Regions from separate parts of the Homo sapiens genome. Here all the other regions are linked to region 4. The links are contacts of gene promoters, found by promoter capture Hi-C in blood cells and fetal thymus (Javierre and others, 2016). All regions are on one chromosome and are shown on one strand. Each heading gives the region's core, a stretch centred on a gene start or on the middle of the fragment in contact. The rest is flanking DNA. Distances are from core to core; before and after follow the strand shown.

Region 1 (4,115 bases), core at 115-2,614, 1.2 Mb after region 4:
AAACCGTGTAAGAAAGAAAAGGACAAGTCCATATATTTTTCCATTTTCCCAGACTATGTTAGTTCTTTCCGTCTTATGGGAATATATTTCAATACATACTGAGTAATTTGGTTAATACTCACTTTTCTGTCCTGTTTAATTATTGCCTGTAAATGAGAGGTAAAGATTATGCTTTTAGTCAGAATGACTTTTTTTTTTTTTTTTACTTATTTTTGATTTCCATATTTCTGTCTGTATTCCCTGCCCCTTTCCCACCCCTGCACTTAAATAGCAAGGCATTGACTTTTGATTCTCGAATAATTAAATTGCCTCCTTGACACTTCAGCAAATAAGGGGAATTGGTATTTAGTTTGAAAAGACTAAGAGTTAAGGAAAATTGTGCTTAATAAAAGGGGGGGTGGTAAATCTAGGGTAAAGCAAAAATTTTTAATTAGTTTAGGAGAAGAGATGGAAGTAAAAGTCTTTTAACCTTTTCTCCCCATCTCTTCAGCCTTTTCATTTTCTTCCTTTGAAATATTTGGATTATAATAACTTAAGTGTGTATTGACCTTCACAGTTTTTAGGGTGCTTTCACATTATTTCAGTTGATTCTCACAAACTGAGAAGATTTAAGTGGCCTGGTCTCAGTCATACAACTAATAACAAAGAAATCCATTTAATTCTTAATACTGCCTTTGTAATAAGCTGTTTCTAATTGTCCTCTGCAATATTGAGGCTGCTAGGGAATATCCCTACTCCCAGCTTCACCATCTGTGGAATGCCCAAAGATACCGAAGATTCTCCAGGTAATATTGGTTGGAAACATGAAAGTTAGCCATACTTTAAATACTATTGTAGATTAACTGAAGGAGTAGGAGAAGAGTAAGCTGGTCACTTTTATCTCTCTAACAGTTGTTTGGCTAATTCCTTAATAAGATAAAGCAGCAGTTCTCAAAGTATGGTCCTTGGATCCCTGTGGGTCCAAAACCCTTTCAAAAGGCCTGAGAGGTCAAAACTGTGTTCATAATTATACAAAGACTTTATTTGCCTTCTTCACTGAGAGCAAAAGCAGTGGGGGTAAAACTATGCTAGCCCCTTAGTATTAATCAGGTTAGTGGCACCAAACCGTTATCACTGTGTTCTTTACCACTGCACATTGAACAATGGGGAAAAAATTTCAATATCACTGAATGTCCTTGAAGAAGCAGTGAAAATTTAAATTTTGTTAAAGCTTGACCTTTTTGTGTGCATCTTTTTAATACCCCGTATGACAAAATGGAATGCGTATAAAGTGCATCCATTGCATAGCAAACTGGTTGGCTCAAGGAGAAAACTTGTGCAGTTGTTTTAGTTGCAAGCTGAACTAGCCACTTTTTTCATGTAACCCCATTTTTACTTGAAATAACACCTGTCAGACAAACTTTGGTTACTCAGACCTGGGCATTTGATAAACATTATCTTATAAATGAGTAGTATGACCCTGAAAATTCAAGGAAACTAATTGACACTATTTGCTGCCAGTGATAAAATTCAAGCTTTCAGGGAAAAATTAGAATTTTTGAAAATATGTATCTGTCACCAGTAGCCTTAAAGCTTCCTGGTTCTTAAAGGCTGTCCCCTTGAGATCAAGTATGATATTAGTGGATGTAACTTTTTGATAATCTGCAATAAAATTTGTCAGTATTTGAAAGATTTACATAACTCATTGAGCCAATATTTTTCAATTGACCAACAGAGAAAGACATTATTAATTGGGGTCTTTCTTTCCTTTTCAGCCAAGAGCAGCCAATTAGAGCATAATGGACAAGGTAATCTTTGGATCTGACCATTCTTTTTATCACTGACAATGATTGTTGTCAGTTGTTTTCCTCTAGTTTTCAGGATCATTTTGCTTATTTTTGAGGAAATGTTTATCAGAATCATATATGGGTAAAATCCATTTAAACCGCAAAATGTACAAGTGGATTTTAATATGATATAAACTGTTGAGGTCATGGATATGATTTCAGATACATTGCAATTAACCTTTAAGAAGAATACTTGTTGAGTTTTAGTGTGGTATCAAAGAAAAATATTCACACTTATCTTCTTTTTCCAACTATGTAGCTATGTCAGGTTCGATTTTTCACGCATAGTTCAATCAAAACACATCACAACAGATTGGGGAAAATTCAGCTGTCTTGTATTAAATAGACATTAAAGAGATTTGCAAAATGTAAATGTCACTCTTCTCACTTTTTATGTTTTGGAAAATACAATTATTCCAAAAAATATGTGATTTATATTATTTTGTAATAGATTTTATTACTATTTTAAATGAATTAAACATTTCAGAGTTTTCTCGGGTTTAATTTCTAATACAGTAAATATGGGCAGTTATAACCCACACATAAACAAAGGCTCTTTGGGGTCCCCAATAATTTTTAAGAGTGCGAAGGGGTTCCAGGACCAAGACATTTATGAAGGGGTTCCAGGACCAAGACATTTACGAACTACTGAGCCAGAGTTACTACTGATGCCAGTATATGGTGTAATTCTATGGGGAAAATAAAAAGCTTAATACCACTGACAGAAAATATTGATAAAGTCAACTCAGTTACCTCTGTTTGGTGTGTGTATCACTTGCAGATGCTGTCTACCACCTTTTCAGTGACATCCTAGAAGCTTCTCTATTACCACAGTAACTGGCTAACTAGAAATGATCTTTCCCTAATTTTCATGAGCATCTTTTTTCTGATATAAACCAGGGAGGGAAAAAAACAAAGTTCCTTCACTTTGAAGGAATATTCTCCTTTAGTACTGTGCAACAGCTGAAGAAAGGTCAAATCCAAAAATTATGTCCATTATACCAAATTGATTGGTTCTTGGCTACAAGGGAAAGAAGGACCCTGAGTAGCAAGGTTAGTCTGTTTGGCTTGAAAGCTGAGAAGTGTGGGGGAAGCAGCAGCAGAAGGAACAAGAAAAGAGAGAGAAGAGACAGAACTATTAATGCAGGGTACTGATAACAAGCATTGTTTGAATGTGGGAGTTCCTAAATAAATCCTCAAAGGTATAGTGGACTTTCTATTGTGTGTGTGTGGTGGGTTTGCGGGGGTGGGGTTGGGGGGATTGTGGTACACTATACACAAAAGCTATGACAGCCAGCAACTACCTGCATTCAGTGTGGTCTTGAAGGCATAAGCATAAGGGCCTATTTACTCTGTCTGATTAGATCTGCTGAGACCTATAAGTGACTAGCTGTATCTAACTTGTCCCTTAGACATCACTGTGGTAGGAGTACAGATGGCGGGGAGGAAGTGGAATTCACTATATAAAGTAAATACACTACCAAGTCAAAACGTTTAGTCATGTGTCCCCATAACAGTTTCCTTAAACCTGTGTGATTTAAACAATTTAAAATATATATCCTATATAACCTAAACCTGTAGTTACCATATAGAATTCCTATTTGTCTTTCAAAAATCTGAAGAAAGACTGTTCTTCAAAAGTCTGACGACATTTCCAAAAAGCCTTTTCTAATCTTCCAACTCTTCCTTCTCCTTCTATCCTCTGGACTGCCATGATATTCAATTGCACTGCATTTATTGCACTTAGCATACTGAATTATAATTAACAATTACATAAACCTTTCTCCTACTAGGTTGCCTCTTATTTGGGATCTAGTTAATGGAGAGTTTATTGTTAGCAAAATAGGATTTTGATTTAAAGACATTTATTTTAAAAATATCAGTAGTATATTTATATTAGATACAATATAGCCAATAATATGAAAACTTTTCTCATTTTCCAAAATATGTCTGTTCTTCTATGGCTTTATTTTGTTCTCTTTATAAGAAACACTTTCAGAAGTGCAATAGCAAAGATTATTTGAGAAAATAATCTTATAATGCATTTGTGCCTGGACTTCTTTGTTTCTTTGTTTTTGCTTTCGAGCATTTCATTATCCTTGTGGCCATGAAAATATTTCAATTAAATATCATCACTTTTGAAGGAAATTCTAATAGGGAGCAAGAATGTCCCACCAAGAGACAGGGTCAAGACACCAGCCTTAGCTGCTGGCCTTTCTCAGAAATGTAAAGTGGCCATTGCTTTTAAATGGACACATGCTCCACTTCTTGGAATCTGTTAGTGTTTTA
Region 2 (4,140 bases), core at 481-2,980, 1.2 Mb after region 4:
AGGTATAATATGTCTTTAATTCAGAGAAACTAGAACATACTGTCATTTTAACTGTTAAGTGTTTAAATTTTAAAAATTGGCACTAAACAATTTTTGATAGAATCTATAAATCTTTGTATTTAACCTAGTTTCAGCCTAATCTAATTGGAGTTCCCAATAGATGGATAATTATTTCAACATTTTTCTCCCTAAGAAGACAAAAGGAAACAGTCTGCTTTATTCACTTACTTCTATTATTACGTGGTATTTGCATAATGTTTATACCATTTTTTTGAGGGGGAACAGAGAGGAAAACAAGTGACATCACTTTTTCTTGGAATAAAATCATATACCAGTAGTCATGGGCTTAAGGGCTACTCTAATATTCACCCCTAGGAAATAGCCACAGCAGTGATATGACTCCTAAAGAGGGTATAAGATTGAATTATGACAAACTCATTCATGGTTATTTTAGATGATCTGCTAACTGTCCATGTCACTGGGTAGGTTTGTTCACATGGGAATATTCCAAGATCTCCTGGGGCCCTTCCAGATAAAAGGATAGTGTGCGTAGTACCTGAGTGTAGGAGATGACCAGAGTTCATCACTAACATGGCAAATCCCATACCCCATGAAGAAACATCCAGACACTCTGATCTACTAACTGATGTGAAGGGTTATTGGTAAAGCCTTAGTAAAGCTGAAAACCTAGAGCTAAATTAGAAATAGCCTCGCTTACTTGCTTCATTAGTTATATTTAATAATACATAGAATTTAGATGGAAAATGCCCACTTTGTAATTAAATACATTTTATTCTTTTAGGACTATACCTGGGAAAATCATGGGTTCTCCCTGGTGAACAGACTTTATTCTGACATTGGACATCTTCTTGATGAAAAGTTTCGGATGGTCTACAATCTCACATATAACACTATGGCCACCCATGAGGATGTTGACACAACCATGCTGCGCAGAGCTTTATTTAACTATGTTCACTGTATGTTTGGAATCAGGTATGTTCATTGTAGAGACAGTTTTTTACATTTCTAAGTGAAAATTCAAGCATGAGTCTTATTTTTGTCCTGTTTGGGAGTATATGACTCTGGGAAGAAAATATTACATGTAGACTTCTGATTTTAAAAATTAATTTCATTTTATGGAGAAGCATTTTTCTTTAAGTGTTATGAATCTTAACATTGATGCACATGTAAATATAGTGGTAAAAATTTACTGAGGGAAAAAAGCATCAGTAATGATTGGGGATAGGATAGAATTAGACCAAATTTGAGAATCCTTCCTGGAAGAACAGGTGAGTTTTAAAAAAACAGGTGTAGTGTCCCTTTAGATCACTATAATAAATTCTGGTTTGTTTAGTTAGTTTGGTCTTTTTAAAACTTATTTTTTAAGGAATGGTAATTACGGTATAAACAAAACTGTACTAGGTTGTGCCTTCATAAGCTTACATAAGGTCACATAACACTGAAATTAAATATATCAGCCAATATAAATTAATGACCTCTAAATTTAGAAAATTAGCATTGAGAGGACAGTAAGTACATGAGATTGAATAGTCTAATCAAGAAAGCACTTTTTGGAGAATGTGCCTTTTTGAGTTGTGGTTTTGAGGCTTTTATGGAAATAGATTAGCAGACAGAAAAACTTTCCAGTTACAAATTATTCAACTTGACTATATAGATATATATCAGACAGACTTTATGATAATTAGAATTTAATCGGTTAAGCAAAGTATTTTCTATAATTTTAGCTGAAGAACCCCAAAATTTACTGATAAATCGCCTAATAACACGATATTCCATGTAATAGATTATGGTTGTATGTAATAACTGAGCTATTTGTCCATTTACCATGCTAGACAATGTTATCAAAGAATCAATACATTTTAAAACACATATATATCATATCTACCTACTTAAGAAAAATAAACACCGATAAAACTCAATTTAAATGCAATAAATATGTATTGGATACAAGGCAACAAATGTGGTGAATATATCTGTTGGATGCTACAAAATAAAGCTTACATAAATGCATCAAGATACTCTTTTTATTAAACTAAGCATTATATGGGTTAAAAATTAACTGAAAATGTAACAGAGAAATTCCACAAGTTCCCAATACTACATTTACCTACCTGTCTACATCTGTGCCCATTTACTCTGCTGTCATTACTGTCTATGTTCCTATACACTTATGCACAAAATCCCATTTCTCATTTTCTAAAGATCTCAGTTCTAGCAATGCTCCCTTCTCTCTCCAGCATAATCAGCTTTACTCCCATTTTGGATCTTTCCCATCAGCATTGAAACACACTTAATTTCTCCCATCTTTAAAGAAAATTTCAGTTTCACCTTTCATTTCCATCTGGCTACTGCCTCATTTTCTGCTTTCGTGCGAAGCAAATCTCTGACAAAATTGTGTATATTTACTGTCACTATTTTCTTATCTCCCATTCTCTCTTGAACCTATTCACAGTATCAGGCTTTTGTCCCTATCAACCAACAAAACTGCTCTTACCGAGGTTGCTAGTGACCTCCATATAGCTACTTCCAGTGGTCAGTTCCCAGTTATCTTATTTGACTATTTGGCAGCATGGGACTCAGTGATTACTTGCTCTTCCCTGAAACACTTGACTCCTACCTCAAGTCCTTTACACTTGCTTCTTTACCACCATCTGGTATTTGTTCAAATATCAAGGCTTTCAGAGAAGCCTTCCTGCCCACCCTATTTAAAATAACAACTCCTCTCCTCCCAGACCAAGTTCCATTTCCTCTCCATGGCAGTTATCACCATCTGACTACAATGTGTTTATCTTTTTAATTTTTCTTCGTTTTTTCTTCAACAAAATTTAAGCTCCATGAGACCAAGGATTTTTGTCTGTTTTGTTCACTAGTATATCACTACTACTGAGTACTCATGGCACATAATGGGTACTCAGTAAACATTTGTTGATTCAATTAATTAACGAGCTTTTAGTATTTAATTACTAGACAATAAATGTCCTTAGTATAACTTTGGAAACTAAATATTTTGATTTTGTCATTATAAAGCTATTGTTGTATTGCTCGTAGGTATGATGACTATGATTATGGAGAAGTTAATCAATTACTTGAAAGAAGCCTGAAGGTTTACATTAAGACAGTGACCTGCTATCCTGAGAGAACTACAAAACGCATGTATGATAGTTACTGGCGGCAGTTCAAACACTCAGAAAAAGTACGTGTTTCAGTATTAAGCATTATACCATAGACAGTTCTTCAGTACAAGAAGTAATAGTTATGAAAAATGACACATGAAAGTATTAATAAATTATAGCCATTGACATGGAAGTGGCATCATCTAGCTATCTGGGGTTTTTTTGCTTGTTTGTTTGCCAGGCTGGAATGCAGTGGCACGATCTCAGCTCACTGCAACCTCCACTTCCCGGGTTCAAGTGATTCTTCTGCCTCACCCTCCCGAGTAGCTGAGATTACAGGTGCCTGCCACCACGCCTGGCTAATTTTTGTATTTTTAGTAGAGGTGGGGTTTCACCATGTTAGTCAGACTGGTCTCAAACTCCTGACCTCAGGTGATCTGCCCACCTCGGCTTCCCAAAGTGCTGGGATTACAGGCAGGAGCCACTGTGCCCAGCAGAAACCGTTGTCTTAATAGGTTAACTTTAGTGGTTAAAGAATCTCGAAATGGATGTGCCTTCTGGGCCAAAATACAATTATACCTAATACAACATTTCAGTATGTCTGATTTTTATTAATAGTTAGAACTGTAGACAGTTTTCCAAATGTGCTTTGAAGATATCAGTACTCAGATCTAGTATTTCTAAGGCTTACGATAAACTTTTATATGCTATATTGAACAAAGCATATAACCAAAATTGGGTTACTAGTCAATAAATCTGAATTAAAAAAATATTTTAAAAACCCAGATAGTGGCTGGGTGCAGTGGCTCCCGCCTGTAATCCTAGCACTTTGGGAGGCCGAGGTGGGGGGATCACCTGAGGTCAGGAGTTCAAAACTAGCCAGGCCAACATGTAGTGAAACCCCATTTCTACTAAAAAATACAAAAATTAGCTGGGCATGGTTGTGCATGCCTGTTGTCCCAGCTACTTGGGAATCTGAGGCAGGAGAATCGCTTGAACCCAGGAG
Region 3 (4,266 bases), core at 637-3,136, 1.3 Mb after region 4:
CCTCCCCAGCCACAGTATGTAGGCATTTGGTACAAGCACTGTAGTAGCAGGTACATGACTATGTTTTTGGTCTACTCTTTGTGCCTAATATACAGGCTGGTGGGCATGAAGGTTCAACAAATGAATATTAACCACAAACTCTACAAGGCAGATCACCCTAGGTTCTGCAACCTACCTGATAACCCTACTCTTATTTCACTAGGTTTGTTTTTAGAAGCTAAGGAAAAACATCTGCATGGAAAACTCAATCATAAACACCCTCTGTCATATTCAGATAGCACAGAAAATTCTAGAACAAAGCACCTGTCTCCTAGCAGAGCTTTGCCTGCTTTGAGATTGAGAATACCTGCAAAAAGCACCTAAGTCATTTATTAAAATACTGAGCTGAGAGTCATTCCCTTGTAGGAGAAGGCTCATTTGGTTATTGCTGTGGGTTCTGGAGCAGGACTTTGGTATGTCAAGACCCAAGTCCAGTTACTGGCTGTGTGACTCTGGACAAGGTAGTTAACCTCTCTAAGCCTCAGTGCCCTCCTCTGTAAGCTCAGAAAAAAATAGATGTACAATTTATTACAGTGTCTAGACCTAAGTGTACAATTCTTTGTAGATATCCTTATCATCATGATTATGATATTACTCAAGTCATGGAAACAGCAAGTCCAGTTTCTGGAGACTGCAATGATGTCATTCCTCACACCCACTCAGACTCCAGGAGGCTCATCCAGTTTCCCACCAAGTGAGTCTATGCCTTTACTGCTCCCTTCTATAAAACACTAGGATAATCATGGTACATAATAATGCCTTTGTGTTTATAGGGCATGATCACATTCATTTTCTCATTTGATCCCCACAATAACCCTGTTATGGTAAACAAGGAAGATTATGTTATCTCTATTTTAGAAGTGAGGAAATAAAGGGAAAACGAGCTTAAGTGACTAGCTTAACTTACTAAGAAGTGGAGTAGAATTTGTAACAAGATCTTTCTCGCTGTGTCTCAGGGTGGAGTAGAAAGACCATTTACCAAAAGGGGCAGCCCCCTATTGGTCAAGTTTTGCTGCCATCACTGGGACCACCAGAGTGGGGAGCATTTCTCCTCCACATTTCAGGATTCGGGATCTGCAGTTTGCTGCCTTTAAGCAGCTGATGTCAGTGTCTTATCCTGCCCAAGGTATACCGACAGGTGTTATTAGGAGATGTCTGCCTGGAGCAAGTCACACTATTTCTACACATACACACTGACATCTTTATATAGTTTACATATCATTGACATGCTCACCAGAGGAAGCTTTGAAGGGAAAATGGAGTCTCAAGAGGGCATTAAGCCAGCTGGAGTAGATGGATAGATGGCAGGGATGGAGGGGGCTCATGCTCTGTGAAAGGCCAAGTAGCTCCATCTTCTAGAGGCCAGGTCTGAGCCTTGAACACTGAGGTGATTGACTGGAGCACTTTGCATGCATGAGCAGCAGCTCTTGTGTGGGTGATCCCCTTTTGCTCTAGTTAAAAAGTGCGGGAGGTTTCTCCCAAACTACCTGGCCCAGGGCAGTTATAATGATCTAAAATCACAGAACCAACCCTGGCTGTACAATAGAATCATAGGTGATGTTTTTAATATTTACAGATGCCAAGGCCCCACCTAAACCAATTAAATCAGAATCTTTGTGACTGAGAGCTAGGCATCAGTATTGTTGTTTACAGTTGTATTGAGGTATAATTGATATACAATAAACTGCACATATTTAACAATCAATTTGATGCACAGTGACATAAATATACATCCTGACTCTTCACTATAATCAAGATAATGAACATATACAATATCTCATAAAGTTTCCTCATGCCCTTTGTAATCTTTCCCCTACTTCCCCATCCCATCACCAAGAAAACAGATCTGCTTTTTGTCACTATAGATTAATTTACATTTCTAGAATTTTTTACAAATGGAATCATATCATATGTTGTCTTTCGTCTGGCTTCTTTAACTCAGCATAATTTTTTTGAGATTTACCCATGTGGTTATATATGTCAGTTCCTTTTTATTGGTAAATAGCATTCATTTATGGTTATACCATAGTTTATTCAACTGATGCTGGACATTTGGTTTTTTTTTTCCCGGTTGTGGACTGTTACAAATAAAGTTGCTCCGAACATGCACATTGCATGGTATGTCTTTGTATTGATGTATGTTGTCTTTTCTCTTGGATCAATACCTAGGAGTGGAAAGCCTGAATCATATGGTGGACGTAAGTTTATCATTTTAAGATACTTCTAAACAGCTTTCCAAAGTGGTTGTGCCACTTTACATTTCCACTAATATTAAATGAGAGCTCCGTTGCTGCACATCCTCGCCATCCTTGCATGGGTCTACTTTATACTATATAGTGAGTACAGTTGATCTCATTGTGATTTTAAGTTGAATTTCTGTAATGACTAATGGGGTTGAGCATCTTTTCATGTACTTTTTGCTATTTGTATATCTTCTTTATTGAAGCTTATTTTAAAACCACTAGAGATGGGACCCTAACATTAGTTAAAAAAATCAATAAAACCTCCCCGGCAATTCTAACGTGCAATCAGGATTAAGCATCATTGTCTCACTAGAAAACTGAGTGCAAACCTCTCATTTTAATCACACGGAAACTGGGAGATTAAGGTTATTTGTATAGCAAGAAAAATTTCAAGACAGTAAAATCACTCCTAAAATAGTTGTGGACATTACAGAGCGAGTTCTCCACTGCAGACCTAACTATATTATTTGCATAAGTCAGACAAGTTTTACTATTGTCTCTGGTAAGACTTAGTGATATAATTAACTGAATTATTTGTTCCAATCTGATCATTTATCATTTTACTTAGTCACGAGTACTTGTTCTACAATAAATTTTGAAGGAAGTGCATTATTTCAACTAACTTTGTGACAGTATTATGACTATGGTGAAATGGAAGGGAAAATAGCCTCAGGGCTTCCACATATAGTATTGACTACACAACCCTAGAGGGCTCCCTTCACATAGCAGATATGAAACCTCTGCATAACTTACAACCGTGTGCAGGGGACTGAACAGCCTTCATCTCTAAAATCTAGGTTCTGGGTCTCACCTTCTAATTGTGTGACCATAGGAAAGTCAGTTGAATCTCTGAATCTTGGTTTAAAATAAAATGGGAATAATCAGTGTTCACAGAATAGATGTGAATGACGTGAGATCACATCGGGGATCAGCAAACCCAAAAGGCTACAGGAGCCAGGTAAGTAAGTTAAATGAGCAAAGTGGATCAGGTCAGAGAGGCAATAGAGACACCATGGAGACTATGACAAACTGTAGGATGCTGGCCCTGTCTACTCAGCTGTAGCTTGTTATGGCCTTGAGGAAATGCTGGCCATAGCTTCTGTTTTTAAGAGAAACCAAACACATCTGTGGTTCTGATGCAGTCCACTGATAAACATGAAAGAGCTTTGCAAGTTAAAAGCCACCTAATAAATTGAAAGGGCATCATTATACGTCTTAAATAAAGCTGTAAGTCAGTCTATGAGGGACTACTGCGGATGTCTATCTTGCTTCCTCTCCTCTGTCCTTCCTATGAGAACTACCAACACCATCATATGGATCCATAATCCAGTCTGGGTCAATCATCTTATTGCACTCACTCAGCCACAGTGATTGACTCAAGGATTGCATGTACCCAACTAGGAAAAAGAAACCTTCCTGGGGATTCTCCCAGCCAGAACTAACACAGGAGCTTTCCTCCTCCAGATATGAGACCATCAGGGTGAATATTCAGAGCTCCCTGTGCTTCACAGTGTATGAAGAAATATCATTTACTCTAGGTGAGAATGAAGACAACAAAGAGTTGTTGATAGTGGATAGAGTTCTGTCATTTTGTGAGTCCCTGATTCAAGAGGCCCCTTCTAAATTCTTGTTATATGATCCAGTAAATTTGGGACAAGGCTAGTTTGAGAGGGGTTTCTATTGCATGCAGGCAAAGGTATCCTAACTAATGCATTCTGCCATCCAATGGCAGAGGATGAGTTTTTATTGATTTTCAACACATCCTGTGACATTTGATTCACAGACAGAGGTTGCAGAGCTCAGAGGTGAGTCTGAGACAGGAGATGGAAATGTGGCAGTGGTATTTCAGGGAAAGCTAACCAAGGCTGTGCAGAATTCTCTCTGCTGGTCTGAATACCACAACCTGAAATATTTTCCAGATTTGAAAGCTCAGATGTGGGCTCTGCTGAGCTTCTGGAAGCAATAAGACTCTAAGAAAGGGATT
Region 4 (4,035 bases), core at 1,536-4,035:
ATAAATCATCCTGAAATCTAATAATATAAATCTTTCTCATCCTATCAGTCTATTAAAATATACAAAACATCATTTAAGATGGTTAACACAAGAAAAGATAACTATGGCAGCCTTCATAAATCAAGCAAAAGATTTCAGAAAAGTGCTTCAGTCTGTTCAGTTATCTCTAACTTTCACTAGAAAATTAAGGGAATGCCACTGTTACAGAAGGTATAATTGCAGATTCTAAAAAGTGAATACATGTGTACATGTAATTTATATCTATTCAGTATCATCTTCTGATTATCTGTACAAATAAAAGGACAAAAGACACAGATGATGAAAACACATAATCCTCAAACCACTTCAGATACATTTTGTGCCTGTATTTCACAGGACCAAGTCTGAGAATTCAGAACACAAAGAAAATTAAGCCATATTGCAAAGAGTTTGTCACAAACACAATGAGCAGAACAATAAAATTGAAATGACATTATTGACTTGACTTTGTCATCTTCTGTTTATTTCTGATGGTGGCTCGAAGTTTACGTATTACCAGTCTATCAGGTAGAATCATATCACCTTGTTGTTCTAGATAATCCAATAAATTTTCAGTCCACTGGAGGGCAGCTGCATGATTAATATGTTTCTCTGGAATTAGTTCTATTTCCTCCTCCTCATTTTCACTGGATTCATCTGCCTGGCCTTGTGCTCTTCTGATGATTTCGCTATCAGTTAACACTTCATAGCCTGGTTCAGTACTGTCTACTTCAAGCCATTTTTCAAGGTTCTCAGTAGTCACATTTTCCAATCCTTTGGTGTGTTGTAAAATGGCAGCCACAGTAGCCACAGAAATATCTTCAACATCAAAGTCCAGGCTCTCTTTCTCCTCTACCATAGGGAGAATCTTCTTCCATGCTCTGCTAATGGTAACTGGTTTTACTAAGTTCCATGCCATTGCTATTTCATAAAGTGCATCCAACAGAGTTAGCTTCTTCCAGAATGATTTCAGGTCATTACCTTCTTCCAAGTTGTTCTGGAGAAGACCTGCACGATAATTTCTCTTCATCGTTGCTATGACTCCCTGATCTGAAGGCTGAATCAATGAGGCCACATTAGGTGGTAAATATTTAGCAAATATTTGGCCATCATCTGACCTTAGGACATTTTCATTTGGATGTGTTGGTGAATTATCCAACAAGAGCACAGCCTTTTCCTGCAAGCCTTTAGATCTTAAATACTCTCGAACTTGCGGCACAAAAATTTTATCAAACCATTGTCGGAAAATGGAAAGATCCATCCATGCACCTTTTTGGCTGAAATAAGAGACTGGCAGGTTTAAGGTGTCAGTTGATTTAAAGGAGCGAGGTTTCTTTGCTTTCCCCACAACACAAAGTTTAAGTTTGTGTAAACCTGTTGCATTGGCACAACACATGATTGTGACTCTTTCTTCAATTGATTTGTGCCCAGGGACAGTGCATTTACCTTTGATTACTGAAATCCTAGAAGGCAAGCACTTCCAAAAGAGTCCAGTTTCATCTGCATTGTAGATTTGTTCAGGCTGTAAATTCTCTCGTTCAATAAAATCTCGAAAGTTATTACAAAAATCTTCCACCGCAGTCTCATCTCCATTTAATCTTTCATTTCTAATGTTAATCTCTCTAATGCTGTGCCGCTGCTTAAAACGAGTTAGCCAACCGGCAGAGGGGTTAAAATCACCATCCATTCCCAAAGCATAAAAGAAGAACTCTGCCCTTTTTGCACAAATTGGTCCAGATATGGGATTCCCTTTTGCTCTTTGCTGGTTGAACCATTCCAGCATTGCCCTGTCCAATTCCTCATACATGGATGGCTTCATAGATTTCCTCTTGGCCAAAAGACTTGTGGAATCAGAACTGCTTGCATAAGTTATAATCTTTTCCTTATTTTTTCTTATATCCCGAACTGTTGTTTCACCAATTCCATAAATCACTGCCAGTTGTTTGGAAGAACCTCCGTCTTCAAGTTTCTTTATTATATCAAGCTTATCTTTAATAGTCAACACCACACGCTTCCGTTTCCCTGACATAGCGAGGTTCTGGGACTCACCCCACACTCACAATGTAGCAATCCACAAAATCCTTCCTTCTCTTACACAGGCTCACTTCAACAGTCTTAACACACTCAGTCTTTCATCCTTACCAGCAACCTGGTGGCCCTGATCCCCTCCCGGGCTGGGGTTGGCTGGCAAATAGACTGCAGAAGAAGGTGAAAGAGGAGGAAGTTTGAGAGAACAGGCCTTTCTTTAACTTATACGGGCAGTAGCGGAGGCCCCATGTCACCGCGGATAATCCGGATTAAAAGCATGTGTTTTATTACCCCAGCAGCCGTGAGAAAGACTATACCCCCATTGTGGCCACGAACCTCCTGCACGTCCAGATCCCGGGTAACCGCGCGTCACTAACCCCTGCCACACCCCAAAGTTACGACAGAGAGCCGAAGAGCCTAGGAGTCAAGGACTGGCACCCTTCCTCAGGGGAACGGATATATTAGATTCCTTCCCCAGCAGCAGGGCCCTCCCGCCGCGCAGCCCCAGTTTCCCGCGCCAGCTTTAGCCGGGACAGTCCTCCCAGTCCCTCAAAACCCGCCAGGCCCCTCTCCCCACCTCTCTTGCAACCAGGACCCGCACAGCTCCCTGACTATCGCGCGGCAGTCGCTCCGCCCCTAGCCACGCTCCCGGAAGATGATCCCTCCCGCCGCCTGGCCCCACCCCTCGCCCCACCCAGAGGCGGGACTTCCCTTGGTCCCCGGAAGGGGGGGAGGAGCATCGCTTGTCCTGAGCTGGTTGCCGGGGCAGGGGCGGAGGCGGAGGCAGAGGTGGAGGCGCTTTGAAAGGTGAGAGCGCGAGGGCGGTGCGGGGCTGTCTCCCGGCTGGGACTCGCTCGCGCTCCCGGTGCTAATGGTTTATGAGAGGGGCGGGGGAAGCCGTGCCTCCTCGCGGACTAAGAGAAAAATTCCCGCGGGCGCTCTTTGGGTGGGCCGGAGAACGCCCCTCAGCCCTTTGCGCCTCTAACCCTCCTCAGCTGAGCTGCAGTGGGCGCGGTGCCCGTTATTTCCGCCTTGGGGAGGTGCTTGGAACTGATGTAGGGAGCTCGGTTGGTGATTTCTCGGGTTTCTGGCCTTTCCAGACCCTTGTAATTGTTTTCTCGGTGCAGAGCTCTTTTGGGGTCTGGGGGTTTCCGTCGTCCTGCGCGCGTCATCGCGAAGCTTGGCCTGAGGGTCCGGTTTCCTAGCTACTGTGCCCCTCCCTCCTGGAGGCAGAGTGACGGACTAGTGGGCTAGCGGGCGCTGGGTTCCTGCGTCCCGCCAAAGAGGTTTGTAATCATGAAAGTCACCCTTCCGGGTGTTAATTCCTGAGAGGATCTATTCCACTGTCTACCACTCATTCCTGCTGCATTAACCTTCATTGTTAACGGATTTTAATGAATAATATAGTTATCCCGGATACCATGCTGGCAGGATCCACTTTGCGAAATTGTGGACTGTTGGACTGTGATTCTAAGTGGGGGAAATAGGCTTTCCTCTCTTTATGTTTATTTTCTTATATCCTATTTCTGTCATGTTCTGTCTTGTTTTCCTGCCAATAGAAGAACTATGATAAATTTATTCATAGCAGTGTGATAAGAACTTGATCTTAATCATACACTGTAGCCCTCAAATCGTGTATTATGCTGGCTTGTTTTTGGTGTCCCTAGTAATTTCATCAGATTGTGAGCTCCTTGGGAGCAGAGACCATGTTTATTTGAAATGGTGGCAGCACAGTTCCTAGCAGGTGCTTGCATTTTGGTAGATATTCAATAATTATTTTTCGGCTTATTAATCTTTGCTCTCCAAACTGCCATATAAAAGAAAACATCGAAGAGGAGTGATGTTTTACACCCAAGAATGGATCCCTCCTGGTAGAATTTCAAATAATGACCTGGGGTTCCACTGCCTTTCAAATCTGTAAAGTGTTAACTACCACCTGCATTGTTTATACAGCAAGTAGGTGATTTCTAGAATGAATCTTTTCTTGAG
Region 5 (4,206 bases), core at 136-2,635, 1.1 Mb after region 4:
TTTCTTCACCATACCTGAAAAGTGGCAGAGCGAAGTACCTCGTTTATTTTCCAAATGTTTAATGAAACCTAAGAACTATTTCACATGTCAGATAGAAAATGAGTTCAAGGGTTGCTGAGCTCAGCATGAGTCCAGGATAAACTAGGGGAGGAGAGAGCGAGAGAGAGAGAGAGAGAGAGAGAGACAGAGAGAGATTTAGAAAGGAAAGGAAGGAGCAGTGCCTTCCGCAGAGACTGAGGAATACGATGCAAAGGAATGGAAAACCACAACAGTCCAGCTCTACTGTGATTAGCTGAGGCTCTTCTAAAGCCAGCGATTGGCCCTAAAGAAATGTATCAGTTAGTTGTCCAGGGACATTCTACCTCTGGCAAGTTGAGTAAAATTAAAACATTTACACATATTTACATTTCTAAAACTAAATGACTTCCTAGTATACACCTGGTCCCCTTTATAACCACCCCACAGAGGCCACCACAGTGATCTTTAATTTGTATCCTGAGACAAAGTGCCCTCATTCCCTTTGTTTTTGTCCTGACTACTTCCTTCTTGAAAACTTTTGAGGAAATTTAACTTTGATTTTTGTTTTTATTGCTTTGTTTTTCTTTTTCGTTCATAAACTCTGGGAAATCATTAAACCGGACCTGCAGGCATTAAGTCTGAATGAAGGATAATGTGTGGAAAAGGAGAAAGCCTTTGTCTCTCAGTTTTCTGTGTAGGCAGTTGATAGCACACACATATTAGAATCACTCTAACATGAAACCTGGAAAGGAGAAGCACTTTGGGTAATAGATTACTGATTGCCGTTCTCTAACTTGGAACAAAAAAAACGTTCTAAAAAGTTTGAGGGTTTTGCACAGCAGACATTCTTAGTGAAACATAGACTGTAAGAATTTTTCTGTGTAAAAACTGAAATGGGGGTTTTCTGGCCGAGTGAGTTCTAGTTCTTTCTTTTGGAATGTCCTGACTTTCACATCCATTTACTAATGAGAACTAAGGGTAATATTTCATATGTATAAGTGCTTGACGTGGAAATGAAGGAAGATTATTTCCGTCAGTCTCTTTTGGATGAAAGAAACAGAATTAAGTTACTTCACAAAATCAGCAGTGGGAGGAGATTAGATCGGTGAAGGAAATTATTACAGAGATACACAAGGACTGGAAGTGGAAACACACCAGGATTTAAGGAACTCTAAATACCAGTGTCTTAGCTTCTTTGCTTTCTTTCTGTGCCTTGCCCCCTCCTCCTACCCCTCCCAGCTTCCTCACCCTTTACTTCCTATCCGTTCTGTTCCTTCTTCGTTTTAGTTTGCATATGGTTCATGACATCCTCTTACAATCTGACTTTGCTGCCAACTGGCTTAGTATCATAGTTTCCTGATGCCAAATCTCCAAGAAAGGAATCTGATTGGCTCAGATTATCATTTTGAGCTAGTCCATACAGATGGATGGCTAGGTTACGGAATGACTGTCTTTGAGTCAAGCGTCTATTCCTCGGTTGACTCACATAGTACAGAGCATAATTATTTAGAATAAGGCCACCAGCAGAAAGATTTACTTAGAGGAGGCTGTGGATAAGACAGGTTGATATGAACATCTTGAATTTGCTGGCAGGTTATGTGGAAACCAGTTTATTCATCTTATTTCTAGAGAATCTAATCCCAGCTTATTGCAATAGACCTGTACTTGTCTTGATATAGCATGTGAAAGTACCAACAGCACCTCCTTCCTCTACCCTTAATTGTTAATTTTATCAACTTTATCTTCATCATGTCCATCACTTTATCTCCGTGACTAGCCAAGTGCCTAGGAATCTTCAGACTTATATCTCAGAACATTTGGAATTTTGACTTGGGTGCCAACAAAGGTAGTTTTCTTATCCAAAGATCACCCAAATATTTTTCACGTAATATGCCAGTGGGTAATAAAATACTAGAATAGAGAATAATGGGTATGTGTTTGCCTATTCTCATAGCATTTATTTCAATAGGTGTCCAGTGAGCTATATTTGGTAAATGTATGAGAGATTTAATCTAGTGGACCTTATTGTTTGGTAACCTAACACAGATAATTAGTTCAAAGAATATTTATAAAAATGACTAACTGAATAATGCCAAAGCATGATTTTATAACACTGTAAATCCTGGTGGCATCAAGCAGATCTGGGTTCAAATCAGAGCTCTACCTTGTGTGACCTTGACCAAATTTTCAGTCCCTATAAATCACATTTAAATAGAGATAATAATAGCTACTTCATAGACGTTTTATAAGTATTAGGCAAAATAATTTATGTAGGTTATTGAATAATTATTGGCACATACTAAGTACTCAGAAAATGATAGTGGTTGCTTCTATTACCATATCTATGATGATTATCATCACTACCATGAAGGTTACGGGGATTACAGAATATGGATTAGAAATATGATGGTTATCTTCAAGTACTTTACTGTCTTAAGACAGATAATATCGATGTACTTGTTAGAAATTGTGCACACATATCACTTGCACATATACAAATGGAAATCAACAGGGTGGGGGCTAAGTGTGAAATGCTAAATGTTAGATAATAAAGTGATATTATTTAATTCGGAAAAATAGATTAAAATTTTGGTGAATTTTTAATAGGGATAGTGCCCCTCAGAAAAGAAAGGAAGATTTGCACCCCTCATGGAAGTTTGCCTACTGCAATGTAAAAAGCCAGGATACATAGGAGTTTTGCAATTGGAGCATGAACTATATTAAAATGGGGAACTGAAACACTGGGAAAGGACCTACTAAGGGGAGTCTCTGGGAGTTGCTGTTGGAAACCAGGAGGCAGACCACTTCTTGGGTTAACATTTCACTTCCTCGGGGAAGGCCTAGACCAGGGGAGACATAGACCAGGTTTGATCACCCTGCTTTGTGTTCCCTTCCTGTGTTTTTCCCTACTATAACACTCATTACACACTGGGATTATTTGTTTAAAGTCCATCTTCTCTGCTAGGTTATAAATTCTAACTCTTATGTTCATCACTCTATCTCCACGACTAGTCAAGTGGCTGGCACATAGTAAGCACTCCACAAACATGGAGTGCTTGAACGCATGAATGAGTGAATTAATGAACATGGAATTAGGAGGTGATTTCATCATACACTGTTTTGTATTGTTCTCTGGTATTTATAGGGGTTAATCCTGTCTTCCTGTTGACATTGTACATTGCATCGAAACACAGCAAGAGTTCTGTATCATATGTCTTCAACACTACCACTGAGATGTATCCAGTTATAGGCATAAATGCTCAAAAGATCTTTCTGGACTCTGCTGATAACCCTTTTTACATTCTATTCTCCATTTTCTATTCATCTTCTGTAACAATGCAGAGATTATACTTCAGTCTCACTATTAGATTATAAGCCTGTCCTTTGTTACTTTTATCACCAGGACTTACTACTTGGTAAGGGTTCAATAAATAAATGACTAAATAAAGGATTATCTGGACAGCATATATTTCAAAGCATAATTTTCCAATTTTGCAGCCTTCCAGAATCTCAAAAGTTGCTGCTGTGATTCCAAGTTTGCAATTCATGTGAGAATGCATCATCTCAAGACATTTCATCTTTGAAATTGCTGTCTTTGTTGCTATCATTCACATACACTTTGTGAATGTGTCTTCTGGCTCATAAGGCAAATTTTACCTTTGTATAAAAATATATTTACAATTTTAAGACATTGGGAATTTTTTGATTAAAATAATCTGTTCACTTGATTTCTAGCTAACAAACTCTAATATATCTAATCATGTCATCCAATGAGTTTTTTTGAGCACCTCTTAGATTCCAAGTACTAGAAATATTCAGATGAATCAGTCTTGTCCCTAAAGATGCTCAAAGTCTAGATATGCCATAGTCACATCCAGAAGATCTGAAAGTAGAAGTATAAATTATTCTATTCAGAGGTCCCTTTCAATCTCACCTCAGTCCTGTGTTGATTTCCTGTAAACTCCCTACAATAGAATACTACATTATCTAAGACTTCTAAGTCAACAAATTATAACTCCTCTTTACTCCCATTAACTATATCCTACTCCCAACCTGCCTTATGCTTGTGTGACTTTTTCTATTTTATTAATCTATTCTCATTTTTAACACCCAGACAGCCAGTATATTTTACAGTAGTATTATATATATATATATATATAATATTTCAGTCTTAATTTCCTCATTTCT
Region 6 (4,329 bases), core at 1,138-3,637, 1.2 Mb after region 4:
CACCATGTTGGCCATACTGGACTCAAACTCCTGACCTCAAGTGATCTGCTGGTCTCGGCCTCCCAAATTGCTGGGATTACAGGCATGAGCCACCACACCTAGCTGGATGTTGGCTTTTATTGTAAGAGCAATGGAGGCTGTCAAAGAATTGTGTGTGTGTGTGTGTGTGTGTGTGTGTGTGTGTGTGTGTGTGTGTGTGTGTTGGGGGCGGGGGATGGGTAATGATAGTGAAATGATCAGATTTGCATTTCAAGGATGCTCTGACTGGAGCATAACAAATGGAGGGGGACCAGAACAGAAGTAGGAAGGCTCATTAATAAGCTAGTCAGGTGAAAAGAGCAGGCAGTGAAGGCTACAGTACGAACAGCAGAGATGAGGAGCGGTAGGTGGATTTGAACAATAGGTAAAAATCAACAAGTCTAAGTGATTGGCTTGCAGGGAGGGTAAACAATAAGGAGGCGTCAGGATGACTCCTTCGTTCCTGTCTTGCCCATATTGCTGCCTGATGCAGCCATTTACTCACAGAACACTGGGAAGGAGCCAAGTTCTAGGGAAAAGATCATGTGTATTGCCTTGATAACTTGGGAATCTGAGATGCCTTTAAGATCTGCAAAGATGTCAGGTAGACTAATTGAAGCTTTATACCTGGGTGAGGGTTTAGGAAAAAGCGAGAGATAAAGGTAACCAAAGAGCCAGTCTTGAGGGATCCCAACGCTTAAAGGCCAGGAAGAGGAGAATGCACTAGTGGGGATGAAGGAGAGAGAAAAGGAACTGCCAGAGTTGCAGGAAAAAAGACCATCTGCCACCCCGGTCCTCAATGCTGGCTACAACAGGAAATAAAATGGATGTGGCCCCTGCCATATGGAGCTCACAGTCAGGGGAGTGAGAAGGTGGATAGTAAGCAAGAAAACCACGAAATTATAAAACTACAAATTGTAGTCAGCATTATAAAGGGAAAGACAGAGAATAAGAATGAATTGTGGGCTGGGCACAGTGGCTCATGCCTGTAATCCCAGCACTTTGGGAGGCCGAGGTGGGTGGATCACCTGAGGTCAGGAGTTTGAGACCAGCCTGACCAACATGGTGAAACCCTGTCTCTACTAAAAATACAAAAATTAGCCAGGCGTGGTGGTGCATACCTGTAATCCAAGCTACACAGGAGGCTGAGGCAGGAGAATCTCTGGAACCTGGGAGGTGGAGGTTGCAATGAGCCAAGATTGCACCACTGTACTCCAGCCTGGGTGACAGAACAAGACTGTCTAAAAAAAAAAAAAATGAATTGTGGGGCAGGGAAGAGTTCTTTGTGGATCTGCATTAGGATGCTTATGAGTGGCAGCTGTCCCCAGGGAAGTGTTTGGAGAAAGGAAATTGCCTGGCACCTGTGGTCTGCTTTCCCACTGTAGCCCTGTTCTTCTCTCCCCAGTTACTTCCCAGGAGGTGCCTGGAACCTAAAGAATAAGTGTCCTTGAGCAGTGAGTGTCTCTGAAAAGAAGGGAGTGAGGAACTTCAGAATGGACACACAACAAAAAAGCCCAGCTGACCATTAATGGGTTGGAAAGATGCTATCACAGGGCCTGGTCCCATTGGAAGATGTTTGGGCTTTTCGCCAAGGCCTGATGACCTCCACCACCTGATCTGAGACTGCCCCTATAACAGCAAAGCCCTTGATCAAAGCAAAATGACCCAGAGAGTTTCAGGTATCCCACAGCTCTGCCAAGCAGATTTCAAAGAAATGCGAACTGAGGTTATCATGAGGATTTTGTGCTAAAGGAACCAGGGTATCAGGTGGCCATGCCTTCTCAGGGCCTGAGCCTTGGGGATACCACGCAAGTTCCCTAACCAAGCTATCTGAAATACACTCCAGCCTAAGGGTATATTTATTCACCCAAGGTCCGTGTCAGATTCCTTTATTAGATTCTTTTATTTCTCTAGAAATAAACAGTGAAGTATAATTCATATACAATCCCATTTAACAAGGCAAATGGAAAGTGCTGTTTTAAAGCAGCAGCCATAGGCATTGTGAGAAAGCACAAAGTCAAGGTTCGGGGCGTAGGCTGTGGAGTCAGACACACCTAGGCTCAACTTCCAGCTCTGCCCCCTACTGGTTCAGTGATGTTGAGACGGAGTCTTGCTTTGTCGCCCAGGGAGGAGTGCAGTGGCGCCATCTCTGCTCACTGCAACATCTGCCTCCCGAGTTCAAGCGATTCTCATGCCTCAGCCTCCCAAGTAGCTGGGATTACAGGCGCCCACCACCACATCTGGCTAATTTTTGTATTTTTAGTAAAGACAGGTTTTTGCCATGTTGTCCAGGCTGGTCTCGAACTCCTGACCTCAAGTGATCCGCCAGCCTCTGCCTCCCAAAGTGCTGGGATTACAGGCGTCAGCCACCACACCCAGCAAATTACATAATCTTTAATGCCTTCCTTCTTCATCTTTATGGGGATAATAGAGTTATATGAATGAATTAATGACACGGAGTTTAAAGCCTTTCTCAGTCTAGCCTGAACTCACCTTTCCAGACTCAGCCTGTGATTTTACTCCCTTCCCCCAAGCCACATGAGAGTCCCAGGCTGCAGCCACACTGGCCTTTCTGCTACTGCTTCCAGCCATCACCTTCTCTCTGCCCCGACCACGCTTCCCACTGCCTGGGTTCCCTCACACCACCCTCGTCTACTGAACTCCCACTCATCTTTCAGAGTGCAAAGCAAATGTCACCTCCTCTTTGAAGCATCCCCTGCCTCACCTAAGCAGTCAGCTGCACCTTGCTCTCTATGCCCATATACTTCCTCTACATCTTCTCAACGATAGTAATAAACACTCAAAGTGCTAAGCACTGAGCTTAAGTACTTTAACTATTTTAACTCACTAAATCCCCACAGGAACCATATAACACAGATTTTATCACTAACCCCATTTTTAGGATGCAAAACATAATGCACAGAGAAGCTAAGTAACTTGCCCAATGCCACACAGCCCACAGCAGAGCCAGGAAACAAGCCAAGCCCTGTGATGACAGAGCTGGTGCTTCTAACCACAGTGCTACACTGTGTACTCCTTATCCACAGGGTGCGAAGTCCACTTCCCCCAACAGGTGGGAGGGCCAGGGATTGCATTTTCTTCATTTCTGCATCCTCAGATCCTAGCACAGTACCTGGCACATAAGCACTTGCAACTTTCTTCCTCTCACACACCAAAACTAGACTATTTAAGGAAAACCAATAATTCAGTAACACTCACCCATGTGTTCTGGTCTCTTCTTTTTGGCTATAATTTCTGATTAAAAAATACTGCTCTGTAGTCCTGGCCAAGGGGCCTCATATAGTCTCTTTGAAGTTGATGAATAACAATGAACTTCTTCTAGTTCATTCAATTAAAAAAGAGAAGCCATCTTTTCCCATGAAGAAGTTTGAGGCCTAAGGGTAAAATAGAGACATGGATCTGTCACGACACCTTTTCCCACTGAAATGAAGAGAATCTGTTTATAAAGAAAAAAAAGAGTAAAAACAGAATTCAAAAGGCAACCAGGCTTCCAGAAGGGCCCTCCCTGGCCCAGCAGCTCCTGGAGGCAGTTGTGGAATCTAGAGTTGGAGGAAGTCTTGAAGAGAGAGCTCTTTGAAGGCACAGCTGGCTACAAACCAGTCCCGGAGCCGGCAGCCCAGCCCGGCTCAGCACATCTCAGCCAGAACATAGCTAGGCAGGCCAAGGAATCCTAAGAAGGGGATGATATTTTTAAAATCTTTGGCGTTAGCAAAACTGAAGGTTGCCTGGCCAGTGCTTGTCTCTTTCTTTTTCCCAGCTCAGTGTCTAATTTGTGTATTTCCAGGATTCCGAACCTTTCCCCAGCAGATCAGGTCTAAGTGCAAACGGTCCCTAAGTCACCCATGTTCCTTAGGCTTTTTCCCTCCTTAGAAACAAAAGGTGGACCTTTGCCAAGATTAAATGGCATTCCATTCAAAGCTCCAAGTCTGGCTCAGTTCAACATGCTCATGAGGAGGACTTTGAAAGTGCTATGGATAATTTTCTAACAAGGCACAACTACCCAGCAGGACTGAGACCAAAAAAAGAACCATCTTTTAAATGTAAGTTCTTATCAGCTCTGGAAAAAAAAAAAATAGACGTTATTTAAGCCAAAGCTTAAATTTGGGCTAAAGCCTCAGACTTGAAAAATGCTTGAAGCCAGAATTGGGAGGTGACAGGGGTGTACCAAGGAAGGGTGGGGGTGGGGGAAGCACTGGTTTGTGATTTTACTTCCAGTCTGCGGTCATTGAGTTCATGAGTTTGTACACTCTTGGACCTGTCAGTAAGAAAGTATATATTGAGCATGGATGT
Region 7 (3,854 bases), core at 1-2,500, 1.3 Mb after region 4:
AAAAAAAAAGCTTTCTTGACTAACAGTAATTCTAGAAGATAGACCAGATAACTGAAAACAAATGCTACTGGCAAATAAGAGGATTTACTTTCTAAAATTTTCACTTTCAGAGATGAGAGTTTAAAAGGAAGAGAAATTTTATGCCCAAAGAATAAAATCTCAATTCCCTAAGGAAAGCTCCATTCAATCACCATGAATCACCAGTAACGGAGCTAAAAGAAATCTGAAGCTGGCATTTACATACAGAATGGTATGTTAGTAGTGAAACCATAAACCATCCAAAGAACTGGATTAAAAATAAAATAACAAGTCTAGTCAGCCAGTTTGGATTCTGGAGAGAAAAAACTAACATTTTAGTTAGAAAATAGTGTGATAGAGAATAAAGAGAGTTAAGAGCTTTGGATTTGGGCAGTCATAAACTCCTGTCCAGGTTTTGCCATCTAGAAGCTGTTTGACCTTGGATAAGTTACTTAACTACTCCGAACCTCAGTTTCCTAAACTATAAAACACAAGTCATAATACCTAGAGTTGTTATAGAGATGAGATGAGTTAGAATGTGAAGACCTTTGACATGGTAAGGGATCAATAAATGATAGTTCCTTGCCTAGATTGTCCAGATATAAGTCTAAACTGAAAGAATAGTATAGGGAATTGTCACCACTGGACTGCTTCAGGACAGATGTCCCTGAAATATTCTGCCAACGCAGGTAAATACCTTAACTTGATCCTGAGAATGGCCTGCAAAACAAAAGGAAACACTAAATCCAAAGATGAAGAAAAAGCCAGAAGGGAAAAATTCAACAAAGGTTGGAACCATCCCCTGGGTCAGGCACTTCCCAGTCTTATCCAGTCTCAGCACAATAGACTGGAATGCCATTGCTCACTGTTTTCTGACAACACACTTCTTGGTTTTCCAGGACAGAGAGGGTGGAGATGTCTTTGGTACCTGTTTGGTTTGTTTTTGCTTTTAATCACTCAAATCCACCCTCCATCCATTCATTCAATCTTCCACACATTTCATCTCTCATCATGCATTTATGAAGCAGCTACTGTATGAATGTGGGACATACACCAAGCATTTGAGAAGATACATGGATAGATATTTTACTTTTTAGGAGAGATTTGCAGAATTGTAGATGTCACCTATCTAATCCAACATTCCATTTGTGTGTGTGTGTGTGTGTGTGTGTGTGCGTGCACACGCCTAGCACCTACTGAAGTAACACCTTATATACATATTAATATTTACTAAGAGTTTACCATATTCCAGGTACCATGCCACATGCTCTCATGTGTTATCTTGTTTATTTGTCACAACCTCTCTATAAACACTTTTACAACCTTTAATGAACAGATCCAAAAAATGGGGCTGGAAGTCACATAGCTTGTAAATGGAAGAGCAGGGATCTGAATTAAGTCTCTTAATTAAGGAGTAAGAATCAGGATTGTCCTGTTCACTGCATTCCTTACACAGAGATTTAAGTGTATGATGCTCTATATATCTGTTCTCTGACACAATGAAAAGAAGGCTGAGGTTGGAACAAATTGAACAGTATTTCTGTTTCAGGTTGTATAAGCCATGGATGGAAATTAAAAATCAAGGACTTAATCAAGGTTCTAACTTGAAACAACCATTTGCATTTACTAAGATCTGAAGTAAGACCTCACTGTGCCCTCCAGGAAAATGTTTTTGCAGTTAACCAGAATATCCCCTTCATTCCAGAGTAAAGTGACACTTGAGCAACCTTTATGCAGCCAAGTAAGTGCTCCCACTTGTCCTATGACTGTCAGAAAATAGAAGTGGAGTAGAAATTAGAATTCTCACATAAAAGATGAAAATTAGAGTCCTAAGACCATTAGCGCAGTGGATCCATTGTGAGATCAAAGAATCTCCACAGTGTATCAGAAGAGTAATCAGTAATGAGTTCAAAAATAAGCTGTGTGACCCTAAAACACCTCAGTTAACCTCCCTTAGCCAGTTTCCTCCTTTCTACAATGAAGATAATATCTACCTCACAGTATTTTTTAAGATTGAACAAATATACACTATTGTTACTGAATATATAAATTATATATTATATAATTAATATGTATAATATATTAATTATATAATTTATATATTCAGTTCCTTCCATGTTTATAAAATGATAGAGCTTTATATGTTGGCTTCTGGCATAAATCAGCAATGCACTTTAGAAAGGTATCATTGGCATCTTATCTAAAAATTCTTCCATTAAGTGGAAAGGAGTCAACAAACTAAAAGGTTTGAGGCTTCCTGCACTAAACCAGAATCCAGTTCTCAGGTTTCTGGAGTCTTGACTAGAACTCCTCCAAACCATCTCCTGTAGGCAGAGCAGAGATCAAAATCATTTGGGATAGTTTCAAAGGCCAAAGCTAAGACTGATGGAGTGGCTGCAGAGCAGGGTTCCAGCTCTGCATAGGGAGCATGTTTGTAACAGTTGCTGCTGGCCAGCCCTGGTGCAAGCTTCTGAAACAGGAAGCGCCCCACTGAGAAAACTGAAGCAGAACATCTCACCTGCTCCTGCCTGATTGATCCTCCCAACATCAAATTATTTTATTCAACACTTATCGCGTGCTTTCTATAAGCTGGGCACTAGGAAAAGAATGAGTAAGATGCAATCATCATTCCTCAAGGGCTCAAGTTGGGGAGACAGATACATAAGCAGATAATTACAAAACAACATGGTAAGTATGAAAATAGAAAAACTATAAGAGCACTGAAGGGGTGAACCTAACTTGGGAGGTGGATACAGTTCAGGTGGGGAATTCTTTCTGGAGGAGGTGACACCTCAGCAGAGTCTTAAAGGATGGAGTAAGGGCAGGAAGTGAAGGATAAGATGGGGTCTGTGTAGAAAGGGAATTTGGGCAAAGGGAATCAGCATGAGCTAAGAAACAGACATCACAAACAGTCTGGTTTATGAGAGGAACTCCAGGCAGCTGGATAATGCTAGAACATAAAATATGAGGGTGGAGCATGGTGAGAAACTAGATTGGAGCTGGAGACAGGAGCTAGGCTATGGAGAGCCTGTAAACTGCATTCTGCAGTGTGAACTTTGTCCTGTAGGGGCTGGGCAGGCAACACTTTACAGATTTTCAGCACAAGAGTGACTAAGTTTCTGTGATCTTTGACTTAGGAGATTCTTTTCAAAGGGAAACTGCAGTGTGGACTCAAAAGCTGCCGAACTGGGCTTTGGGAATTCAGTGTCACTGCTGCCCTGCCTGACTCATCACTGGAGGCAAGCACTGAGTTCCTTTGGTCTCCTGCCTCTTCCTCCCCTGTGTGCGGGTCCTCTTGGTAACACTGACCTCATAAAAAGGTGATGTGGGTACAAGGAGACTCAGCATTATAAAATGCTTGGAAGCCGCCAAGGGTACACATTGAGCCCTGAGCATCTTTCTGCAGTGGGGATCTTGGCTGGGAGGCAGGGCCTCAGGGAGCAGGCAACAGTGGGGGCAGGTTTGCTGCAGTGCACTCCAGGCCCAGCTGCACCTCACACCTCCTCCTCCCTCCCTCTCTCCCAATACTCTCTGGATCCTGGCTGACTTGACTTGAGGTCGAGCGGGTGGATGTGGGAGGCCAGCCACCTTGCAGGGAAAAGCATCCTGCAGTGCTCAGCCACAGTGACCATTCTGACCTCTCAGCACAGCAGGAACTCAGGCCCCTTGTACTCTTCAGAACCGCTGTACATCTTACCTCTCAAGCTGCCATTTGTAACTATTTCCACCCTCCCTTCCCATCTTCTTTAATCTCCACAGTCCCCTTCCTCATTATCTCACCCAGGGTCTCCATGTTACCTGGTTCCCTGTACTTCTTTCTGTCAAACTATGCTCCT

Evidence for each region. Contacts are between HindIII fragments. The CHiCAGO score rates a contact against its expected background, and 5 or more counts as called.
Region 1: a fragment that was not itself captured here is called in contact with the fragment with the promoter of CCDC82 in region 4 in 1 of 17 cell types (fetal thymus); the score reaches 5.3 in fetal thymus.
Region 2: a contact is called between a fragment that was not itself captured here and the fragment with the promoter of CCDC82 in region 4, in 1 of 17 cell types (erythroblasts). The highest score is 5.8, in erythroblasts.
Region 3: a fragment that was not itself captured here is called in contact with the fragment with the promoter of CCDC82 in region 4 in 3 of 17 cell types (naive B cells, total B cells and erythroblasts); the score reaches 8.0 in naive B cells.
Region 5: a contact is called between a fragment that was not itself captured here and the fragment with the promoter of CCDC82 in region 4, in 2 of 17 cell types (neutrophils and fetal thymus). The highest score is 7.2, in neutrophils.
Region 6: a fragment that was not itself captured here is called in contact with the fragment with the promoter of CCDC82 in region 4 in 4 of 17 cell types (erythroblasts, fetal thymus, non-activated CD4 T cells and 1 more); the score reaches 9.2 in erythroblasts.
Region 7: a contact is called between a fragment that was not itself captured here and the fragment with the promoter of CCDC82 in region 4, in 6 of 17 cell types (total B cells, naive B cells, monocytes and 3 more). The highest score is 12.4, in total B cells.

Annotation. Positions count from the first base shown.
Region 1 is chr11:95,222,124-95,226,238 of GRCh38, reverse strand. The region is part of intron 1 of SESN3 (sestrin 3); the gene reads left to right. Among named protein-coding and RNA genes, the nearest start is that of SESN3, 7.0 kb to the left of the region's middle. The HindIII fragment of the contact is 304 bases long and covers 1,213-1,516 here.
Region 2 is chr11:95,174,572-95,178,711 of GRCh38, reverse strand. It overlaps SESN3 (sestrin 3), which reads left to right. Exons shown (of 10, transcript NM_144665.4): 7 at 1-2; 8 at 803-993; 9 at 3,070-3,214. Among named protein-coding and RNA genes, the nearest start is that of LNCRNA-IUR, 26 kb to the right of the region's middle. The HindIII fragment of the contact is 579 bases long and covers 1,441-2,019 here.
Region 3 is chr11:95,137,320-95,141,585 of GRCh38, reverse strand. No RefSeq gene overlaps it. Among named protein-coding and RNA genes, the nearest start is that of LNCRNA-IUR, 11 kb to the left of the region's middle. The HindIII fragment of the contact is 1,203 bases long and covers 1,285-2,487 here.
Region 4 is chr11:96,388,662-96,392,696 of GRCh38, reverse strand. It overlaps CCDC82 (coiled-coil domain containing 82), which reads left to right and starts at 2,785. Exons shown (of 10, transcript NM_024725.4): 1 at 2,785-2,853. It overlaps JRKL (JRK like), which reads right to left and starts at 2,684. Exons shown (of 2, transcript NM_001261833.2): 1 at 2,624-2,684; 2 at 1-2,214. The coding sequence starts at 2,047. The coding sequence ends at 473. RefSeq lists a silencer at 2,612-2,871. The HindIII fragment of the contact is 1,223 bases long and covers 2,005-3,227 here.
Region 5 is chr11:95,239,013-95,243,218 of GRCh38, reverse strand. No RefSeq gene overlaps it. Among named protein-coding and RNA genes, the nearest start is that of SESN3, 9.9 kb to the right of the region's middle. The HindIII fragment of the contact is 8,404 bases long and covers 1-4,206 here.
Region 6 is chr11:95,156,712-95,161,040 of GRCh38, reverse strand. LNCRNA-IUR (lncRNA imatinib upregulated) reads right to left here. Exons shown (of 3, transcript NR_110303.1): 2 at 3,238-3,413; 3 at 1,893-2,432. Among named protein-coding and RNA genes, the nearest start is that of LNCRNA-IUR, 8.3 kb to the right of the region's middle. The HindIII fragment of the contact is 3,496 bases long and covers 640-4,135 here.
Region 7 is chr11:95,092,383-95,096,236 of GRCh38, reverse strand. All of the region lies in intron 1 of ENDOD1 (endonuclease domain containing 1), which reads right to left. Among named protein-coding and RNA genes, the nearest start is that of ENDOD1, 4.5 kb to the right of the region's middle. RefSeq lists a silencer at 3,018-3,312 and an enhancer at 3,018-3,312. The HindIII fragment of the contact is 2,475 bases long and covers 13-2,487 here.